2 separate regions of the Homo sapiens genome follow, and region 2 is linked to region 1. Evidence: promoter capture Hi-C in 16 types of primary human blood cells and fetal thymus (Javierre and others, 2016). All regions are on one chromosome and are shown on one strand. The core of a region is centred on a gene start or on the middle of the fragment in contact, and the rest is flanking DNA. Distances in the headings are between cores, read along the strand shown. Region 1 holds the start of SPRR1A (small proline rich protein 1A). Region 2 has its middle 12 kb from the start of FLG2.

The links. Contacts are between HindIII fragments. The CHiCAGO score rates a contact against its expected background, and 5 or more counts as called.
Region 2: a contact is called between a fragment that was not itself captured here and the fragment with the promoter of SPRR1A in region 1, in 1 of 17 cell types (M1 macrophages). The highest score is 5.6, in M1 macrophages.

What each region holds. Positions count from the first base shown.
Region 1 is chr1:152,980,946-152,985,330 of GRCh38, reverse strand. It overlaps SPRR1A (small proline rich protein 1A), which reads right to left and starts at 1,250. Exons shown (of 2, transcript NM_005987.4): 1 at 1,206-1,250; 2 at 1-119. The coding sequence starts at 100. The HindIII fragment of the contact is 3,855 bases long and covers 267-4,121 here.
Region 2 is chr1:152,370,043-152,373,975 of GRCh38, reverse strand. No RefSeq gene overlaps it. Among named protein-coding and RNA genes, the nearest start is that of FLG2, 12 kb to the right of the region's middle. The HindIII fragment of the contact is 3,003 bases long and covers 1,060-3,933 here.

The DNA of each region.
Region 1 (4,385 bases), core at 1-2,500:
TGCATGGTTCCTGGGGTGGAGGCTGGCAAGGTTGTTTCACCTGCTGCTGCTGAGGCTGAGGGGGTGGGGTGCAAGGCTGCTTCTGCTGCTGAGAATTCATGCTTCAAATGTGTTTTTTTCTAGAGACAGAAAGCTGACACAGTGATTCAATTAAAGAAAGATGGATACAAATTCAATGCCAAACAGATTTTATTTCAGGACCCTTTAGAAGAGAAAGCCTTTCATCTCCCTTAACTCCCCCATTACATTTAAAAATGAAATAAGCTTGGATAATTTTCAGGCCCTTTGAAGAGGAGGAGCTAAAAGGCAATTTCTTCTGCTCCATTTTATTGGAGTTCTCTTCTTGGCTCCCTTCCTACCCAAGGCAACTTATATCTGTTCTGGAAAAATGCCCTACTAAAGCTGGCTTCTGAGGGACATGAGGTCCGCATATTAGGTCTTTTGGAAAATGGCATCAGACCACTTTCCTCTCCTAGTACCATGTAGAAAGCCTGTGACTTATAGGATGGCTTTATATTCATCTAAGCCTCTATGGTTTTGCTTCTGGTCTGTGCTTACACAGTCCCTTCCAAATGCTTTTCTTCCCATCTCTGCTTGTCCAAATACCCCTCCATCATAGCTCACATCACTTGACACCCCTAGGAGGGTCTCCTTGAGCAAGGTCTCCCAAAAGTGCACAGCCCTTCTCTGCCCATCTCCGTCATGCCAATTACTATCTACTTTGCATTTCATTTATTTATATATATGTATTACCTTCCTGCTAGGTTTTATGTTTGTTAAGTAAGTACGTTAGGCATTGATTTGTCCAAAGTGCCTAGCATACTGCCTTAAATGGAATAAATGCTCAGTAGAGATCCATCTAATAAATTAAAATTTCTATAAATATCTTGTCAGGGGGAAATTGCAGTGTTACTGAGAGTGCTCTGGGCCTGAGTTCTAGTTCTGCTATGAACTTCCCATGGGCATTTGAACAATCTTCTCCAGGACTCCCAGTTCAATGACTATCTACTGAGGTGGGAGCCCTAACCATCTCTAAGGTCCTTTCAAATCCAGACTGTAATTTAACTTAAAATAAAGATATTCCACTATTCTCTATCTCCCATTGAAACCCTGGATTAACCTGCTTACACATATTTGCCTTTAGCTAATTTCTAATAATGAAAAAGTACACTAGAATTGCCAGTTTGTTGCAATCAGAGACTTACCTGGTATACGGAGCAGAATGGGCTGTGTGGTCCCTTGGGTTTGGTGTGAAGGCAATGGCCAGCTGGCTTTTATAAGATGAATGAGCCCTGCCTCAAGGAAATAGAAGCTCTCGGGCACTCTGTTTTCATTCCTCACCTGTCACACATGACTCACACTACCATCCTCATCACCGGTTGGCTCAGCTTTTTTGATGAACACCACCTGATATTTTTTGGCACTGGCTGGCTGAAAATGATGTCACTGGCCTAATTTTCACTGCCACCCTCATCCTCAGACCCAGGTGCAGGGCTTGCCTTGAGGGAGGGGTGAGCAGCAGGCTTCATGGAGGGTTTCATGAGTTAACCCTGGGGGGACATCTGAGTCCTGTTGAGGCCTTGCCACCTGCTGTCCTTGTCATTGAGATGGTTGTTCCCCGTGTTCTGTGGGACAGGGCACTCTTGCACACATGAATAGGTGGGAAAGGGAGGGGGAGCAGAGGAGCTGAGGTGGGCCCTCCTTGTCTGCCTTGGTGAAGGTGGAAGCTAGAAATAATGAAATGGACTGATTATAGACCCCTTGTCTCAGAGTCCAAGACCCTTCCATCCATTTCCCCCATCTTTTTCCCAATTCCATTAAACTACACACATTCAGAATAATTTACTTATGACTCTCCCACTCTCACCTTCCTCCCCCTGACTGGTTGCTAATCTGGGAAAACCTGCTTTCCTTCACCAACCACACCTTTACCCTTCTCCTACTTCAGGGACTTTCAGGGGCTAATCCTTCTTCTGGGATCACTTTTTCCCTTCACTCCACCCAGACATCTGGCCCTGGCCTTTTCCTCCTTTCTGATCAGGCTAGACTGCCCCCCACCTGAAAACCCAAAAGCCTTTTCTACCTGCCTCCCTGCAGCCCATCCATGGGGTCCTCAATGCTGAATCCTTCTCCACTTTTGCCCACTGCCAGCTCCAGCCCCAATACCTAGAGATCCTGCTGGCTGCAAGGTTTTCCTCCTCCTTCTGGGTCTGTATCTCCTGGGGGCTTTCCGAGGGTCAGAGCTGTTCCTGCTTAAAGCAACGGTGTCCCCACCACAGTGTTTATTTCCTCATTTATTCAACAAATCTCAGTGGGGAGCCTAACATATGCCCATCATGCCTGTCATTCTAGGAGCTCTCTGATGAGGAAGCCCACTTTTCCTCTACAGATCATGAACTCCCCAGGGTAAGAGACAGAGCACAGTTGAGAGCCACTGAGATTATGGATCTCAGAGAGCCTTTAGTTCACACTCCTCAAGGGATGATTGGGGAATCTGAGGCCACCAGAGGTGAAATAACTCACCAAGGTCAAAAAAACAAACCCTAGGAAGAAAAGAATTTTACACAGAAATCCTGTGTTCTCCTTTGTTTTAATTCCTTGTGACTCCCTAATGTCTATGGAGGAAATTAAGCCCAGGCAGAAAATTGATTAGAGGTGGAAAGGGGAGCCCTTCCTGACTGAGAGCTGGGTCACTTGTAGTTCTGGAAAGTTTTAGGAGTGACAGCGTGAGGACACAGAAAGAGCCTTGCCTTGTGGGTAAGCCTTAATCGGTGCTAAGATAAATCCCTTTAAGTAGAAATAAAGATGCTTAATATTTGAGTGGCTCTAAACAGTGGGTGTTTCTAGCTCTGCTAAAGTAAGAAGGGCATGAATTAGAATAGGTGGAAATAAGGTTCAGTTTATCATTACTCAGGGCACCAGGGTCGGAGAAAGGAAGGGAAAAGCCAAAACTAAAATGTCTGCTTCTATCCTGAGTTGCTTTCGCTCTAGGGGAGCTCTCAGAGTGACATCGTGACACAGCTGAGGTGAAGGCACTGGGGGAGGCAGTAGGTGATAAGCCCCTGAGCACCTGCACATGCTTGCCTTCACTCCACGATGGTCAGATTCTGCCCTGCCAAGGAACTTCTCTTTCCTGGGGACACAAGAACAGGGGTTCCCTCAATCTTTCCATAGGCAATTGCCATAAAACTGAGGTCTCTGATTCAGAGCTGCACTCAAAACACAAACTGTTACTAGGTGTGGCCTTTGGAAAATCCAAATCATCCTTAAAACTCAGGTGTTCAGATGGTTCCTCCTCCTCATCTAACCCCTCCTTTACCCAAACACACACCTAAATGTTTGTGGAGCACCTGCTGGCTCCACAGCCAGTGAACCTGAGGCCAAGGTCAGCCTCCCACTGTGTCCATGCAGCCATTGGTCCCTATCCATCTCCATCCTCACACAGTGCCTGGCGTGCAGAAGCTGCTTGGTGACTGGCATTTATAGACCGACTGCCTGGCTGGCTGGCTGGCTGGCTGACTGAATGAATGAATGACTGAATGGCGTTATTTGTAAAGACAGGCTGAGAGTCTACTTTGAAACCTGCCTAGAAGCTCCGGTACACAGTGTACCTGCTGCCCTCCCCACCCACCTGCCTCACTGTCAAACAGTTTAATGCCCCACCTTGCTCCGGGCTGGTGCCAGCCCCACCAGGACACCTGAGCTCCAAGACTCTTGCCTCACTTAGCTCTCCTCTAGGTTTGTGCCCAGGTCCCCTTCTTCACCAAGTCCCCACCCAGGAGCCCTGACAGCAGGGGCTGCTGGAACCTGTTGCTATGTCTGGTAGGATTCTCAGCCCTGCAGGAACCTGCTGCCTAGTTGTCTGTCCTCTGGTGTCACCCAGCTTGTCTCAGGCCCTGGATGATCTGAAGCCACCTCTGAAGCTGGTGTGTTCTCATGCCCTCCCTGGACCTTAGCCCTGGATGCAAAGGAATTTCCTTCTCCCTGGTTATCAGCTCCTTACTGGACAGTCCTGCGTGCCTCAACATGTGCTTCCTTCACCCCACCCAAGCCTGCTTGGGCTCCAGACTCTGGAACTTTCTCTTGGTCTCTGACATTCTTCTCTCTGTGTATTTGAAGCTTCCACAGTGACTTGTGTTAATCGTTAATCTTCCCTCAGAAGAAACTTTGTTTCTCTGCCACTGGGGTTGGGTTAGCTATTGAATCAGGCCCCACAAACTCCCACATAAAGACAAGGGGAAACTGGGTGGCTTCCGACAGTAAGAACAGCACCCCAGATTTCTCAGCCTTGCAGAAAAGCCCCACCTAGGACACAGGAGCTGCTGCTCTTCTGACATCGAAAACTGGCTCTCATTTGTCCCTGGAACTTCCATTGACTCTGAGCA
Region 2 (3,933 bases), core at 1,312-3,811, 610 kb after region 1:
AAACACATTTGCGTAGACTGATCTGTTCATTGAATGAACAAAAGAATAAAATCATTTATTAGGAAGAATTTAAGGAATACAATATAGAATTCTAGTTTCTTGTCTCTCAAATTAAAGTCCAGTTAGGTTGACAAAACATTTCACGTTTTAAATAATTAAATCAATCTAAGGCTAGAAGCTAAATCATATGTGTGGGACCATAAATATTACATAAGTGGAGAAAAAAGAATTGTGAAGTCAAAAAAAATCAAAGATTGTGGGAATTTTAACAAAATAACAATAAGGGTGATAATATTAATTCATATAGTACTATAGAGTTTATAACAAGGTTTTATAATTTTGTTCTCATTTTATCTTCACAATAGCCCTTTGCGATAAGTGAGAGAGATATTACCATCTCATTTTACAGATGAGGTAGCTGAGTGAAGACAGTTATGTGATTTATCCAGGGAAGACAACCAAAAAGGGGTAGAAGTAAAACTTAGATCTCCTGATAACAAATCAATCAGTCATTTATTTATTCACTTATTCAACACATATTTTGAGTATCTACATTGTGCCAGGCACTGCTCTAGGTATTTGGAATATAGCAGTAAATGAAACAGACCAAGCCTCATAGAATGTATATGCTAGTTATAAAAGTAATATTTTTAAATTTACCTTTAAGTTTTTACTAAGATGGCATTTACACAGATTAAATTTTATCTCTGGTGTACAGTTCTGCAAGCTTTGACAAATGCGAAGAGCCATATCAAGATATAGAACAGTTCTATAACCCCCAAAACTGCCACAATGTTCCTTCATAGCCAAATTCTTTCCTCAGTCCCAGGTTCTGGTAACCACTGACCTGTTTTCTGTCCCTGTAGCTTTGCCTTTTCCAGAATGTTGTAGAAGTGGAATTGTGCAAAATGCACCTTGTAAGCCTGACTCTTCACTTAGCATAATGCATTTGAGGTTCATCAATTTTGTTGCATGTAACTATGAATATACTACAATTTTTGTTTCTCCATTTACCAGGCGAAGAACATGTGGGTTGTTTCCAGTTATGTAAGTAAAGCTTCTATAAATATTTGCATGCAGATTTTTTTGTGAATATGTTTTCACTGCACTTGGGTAAACATCTAGGAGTGAGATTGCTAGGTCAGATGGTAAGTGTATATTTACTTTTATAAGAAAACTGTCAGTTTTCCAAAGTAACTGTACCATTTTTCATTCCCAGATTTCCATTGCTCTGCATCCTAGCCAGCACTTAATTTTGCTAGTGCAATAACTTTTTAAGAGTTATCCTAATAGGTATGTAGTGGCATCTCATTGCAGTTTTAATTTTCATTTTCCTAAGGACCAGTGATGTTGAACATGCACATTTAACATTAATATATCTTCTTTGGTGAAATGTCTATTCGAATTTTTTGCCCATTTATTCATTGAGTTGTTTATTTTCTCGTTATTGAGTTTTAAGAGTTCTTAATATATTCTGGATACAAGCCTTTTAACAGATACGTGATTTGCAAATATCCCAATCTGTGGCTTATTTTATCATCCTCATAATAGTATCTTTCAAAGAAATTCTAAATTTTTATGATGTTCGATTTTTCAATTTTTTATTCTTTTATGAATTGTGCTTTCAATGTCAAATCTAAGAAATCAATCTCAGAAACCTTGTATAGCTCAAGGTCCCAAAGATTTTTTCCTATGTTTTCTTCTAATCATATTTTATTCATTGAGGTTTGACATTTAGGTCTACGATTCATTTTAAGGTAATTTTTGTATACGGTGCAAAATATGGAACAAAGCTCTTTTTCATTCTTTTTGTTCTCTCTCTCTCTCTCCTTCTGTCTCCCTCTCTCTCTCTCTTTCTGGCATATGGCTATCCAATTGTTCCAGTTCCGTATGTTGAAAAGATTATCATTCCCCAATTAGTGCCTTTGTACATCTGTTGAAAATTACCTGAACATATCAGCATGGGTCTATTTATGAACTTTATTCCATTGTTCTAAGTGACTAAACTTTGCTAATGAAACACTTTCTCGATTACTGCAGCTTTATACTAAGTCTTAAAGACAACCAGTGTGAGTCTTCCGATTCTGTTTTCTTATGTTGTTTTGGCTATTCCAGTTCCTTTCCCTTTCCCTTTAAATCTTAGAATCAGTTTGCCCATTAATATAAAACAGACCATTAAAGAAAAAGACCATTAGAATTTTTATTAGGATGTTGTTGCATTTCTAATAATTGGGGGAAATTGACAACTTAATTATATTAAGTCTTCTAGTCCATGAACAAGGATGACTCTTCATTTATTCAGTTTTTTTCTTTGGTTTCTCACATCAGTGCTTTGTAGTTTTCAGTACATATATATTGCATATGTTTCTAAGAATTATACCTAAATACTTTATGGTTTGGATGTTATTATACATAGTACTTTTAATTTCCAATTGTTTATTGATCGTATATGGAAATATTATTAATTCTTTTGTATGCTGACCTTATGTACTGTGACTTAAATAAACTCGCTTATTAGTTCTAGCAGTTTTTGCATGTGTTTATTACATTTCTTTGTTATTTTCTACATTGACAATTATGTCACCTGCAAATAAAGAGAGTTTTACCTCTTCCTTTCTAACCTATAGTCTCATTGCACTGACTAGGATCTCCACTATGATGCTGAGTATGAGCAAGGAAATTTATGTTCCCAATCTTTTTTATTTTATTTTATTTTATTTTATTTTATTTATTTATTTATTTTTGAGACAGGGTCTCACTCTGTTTCCCAGGCTGGAGTGTAGTGGTGCAATCATGGCTCACTGTAGCCTTGGCCCCTCTGGGGCTCAAGCGATCCTCCCACATCAGCCTCCTGAGTAGCTACAGGCACATGCCACCACACCTGACTAATCCATTTATTTTTTGTAGAGGCAGGGTCTTGCTGTGTTACCCAGGCTGGTCTCAAACTCCTGACCTCAAGTGATCTCCTGCCTCAGCCTCCCAAAATGCTGACTACACGCGTAAGCCATTGCACCTGGTCCATGCTCCTAATTTTAGAGGTAAACCATTCAGTCTTTCAACATTAGATAAGATGCTAGCTATAGGAATTTTGTCGATGCCCATTATCAGGTTGAGAAAGTTCCCTTTAATTTCTATTTAGCTAAGAGATTCTGTTACTACAAATGGATGTTGACATTTATCAAATGCCTTTTCTGCATCTATCGAGATGATAGTAGAGTTTGTCTTCTTTAGTTTGATATGATGATTTTTTTTTTACTTTAATTTTTAGGGTACATGTGCCCAACGTGCAGGTTTGTTACATATGTATACATGTGCCATGTTGGTGTGCTGCACCCATTAACTCGTCATTTAACATTAGGTATATCTCCTAATGCTATCCCTCCTCCCTCCCCCCACCCCGCAACAGGCCCCGGTGTGTGATGTTCCCCTTCCTGTGTCCATGTGTTCTCATTGTTCAATCTCCACCTATGAGTGAGAACATGTGGTGTTTGGTTTTTTGTCCTTGCGATAGTTTGCTGAGAATGATGGTTTCCAGCTTCATCCATGTTCCTACAAAGGACATGATTTTTTATGGCTGCATAACTCATCATTTTTTATGGCTGCATAGTATTCCATGGTGTCTATGTGCCACATTTTCTTAATCCAGTCTATCATTGTTGGACATTTGGGTTGGTTCCAACCTGCCATTCCCAGGATAGACCCCATTTGTCATAACATATGTTTTTCATACATTGTTCAATGTGGTTTGCTAAAATTTTTTAAGAATTTTTGTATCTATTTTCATGAGGAATATTGGTCTATAGTTTTCTTATAATCTCTGTCTGATTTTAGTATCAGGGTAATGTTGCTCTCAGAATGAGTTGGGAAGTATTCCCTCGTCTTCAGTTTTCTGGAAGAGTTTCTGTATAATTGGTATCATTTCTTCCTTAAATG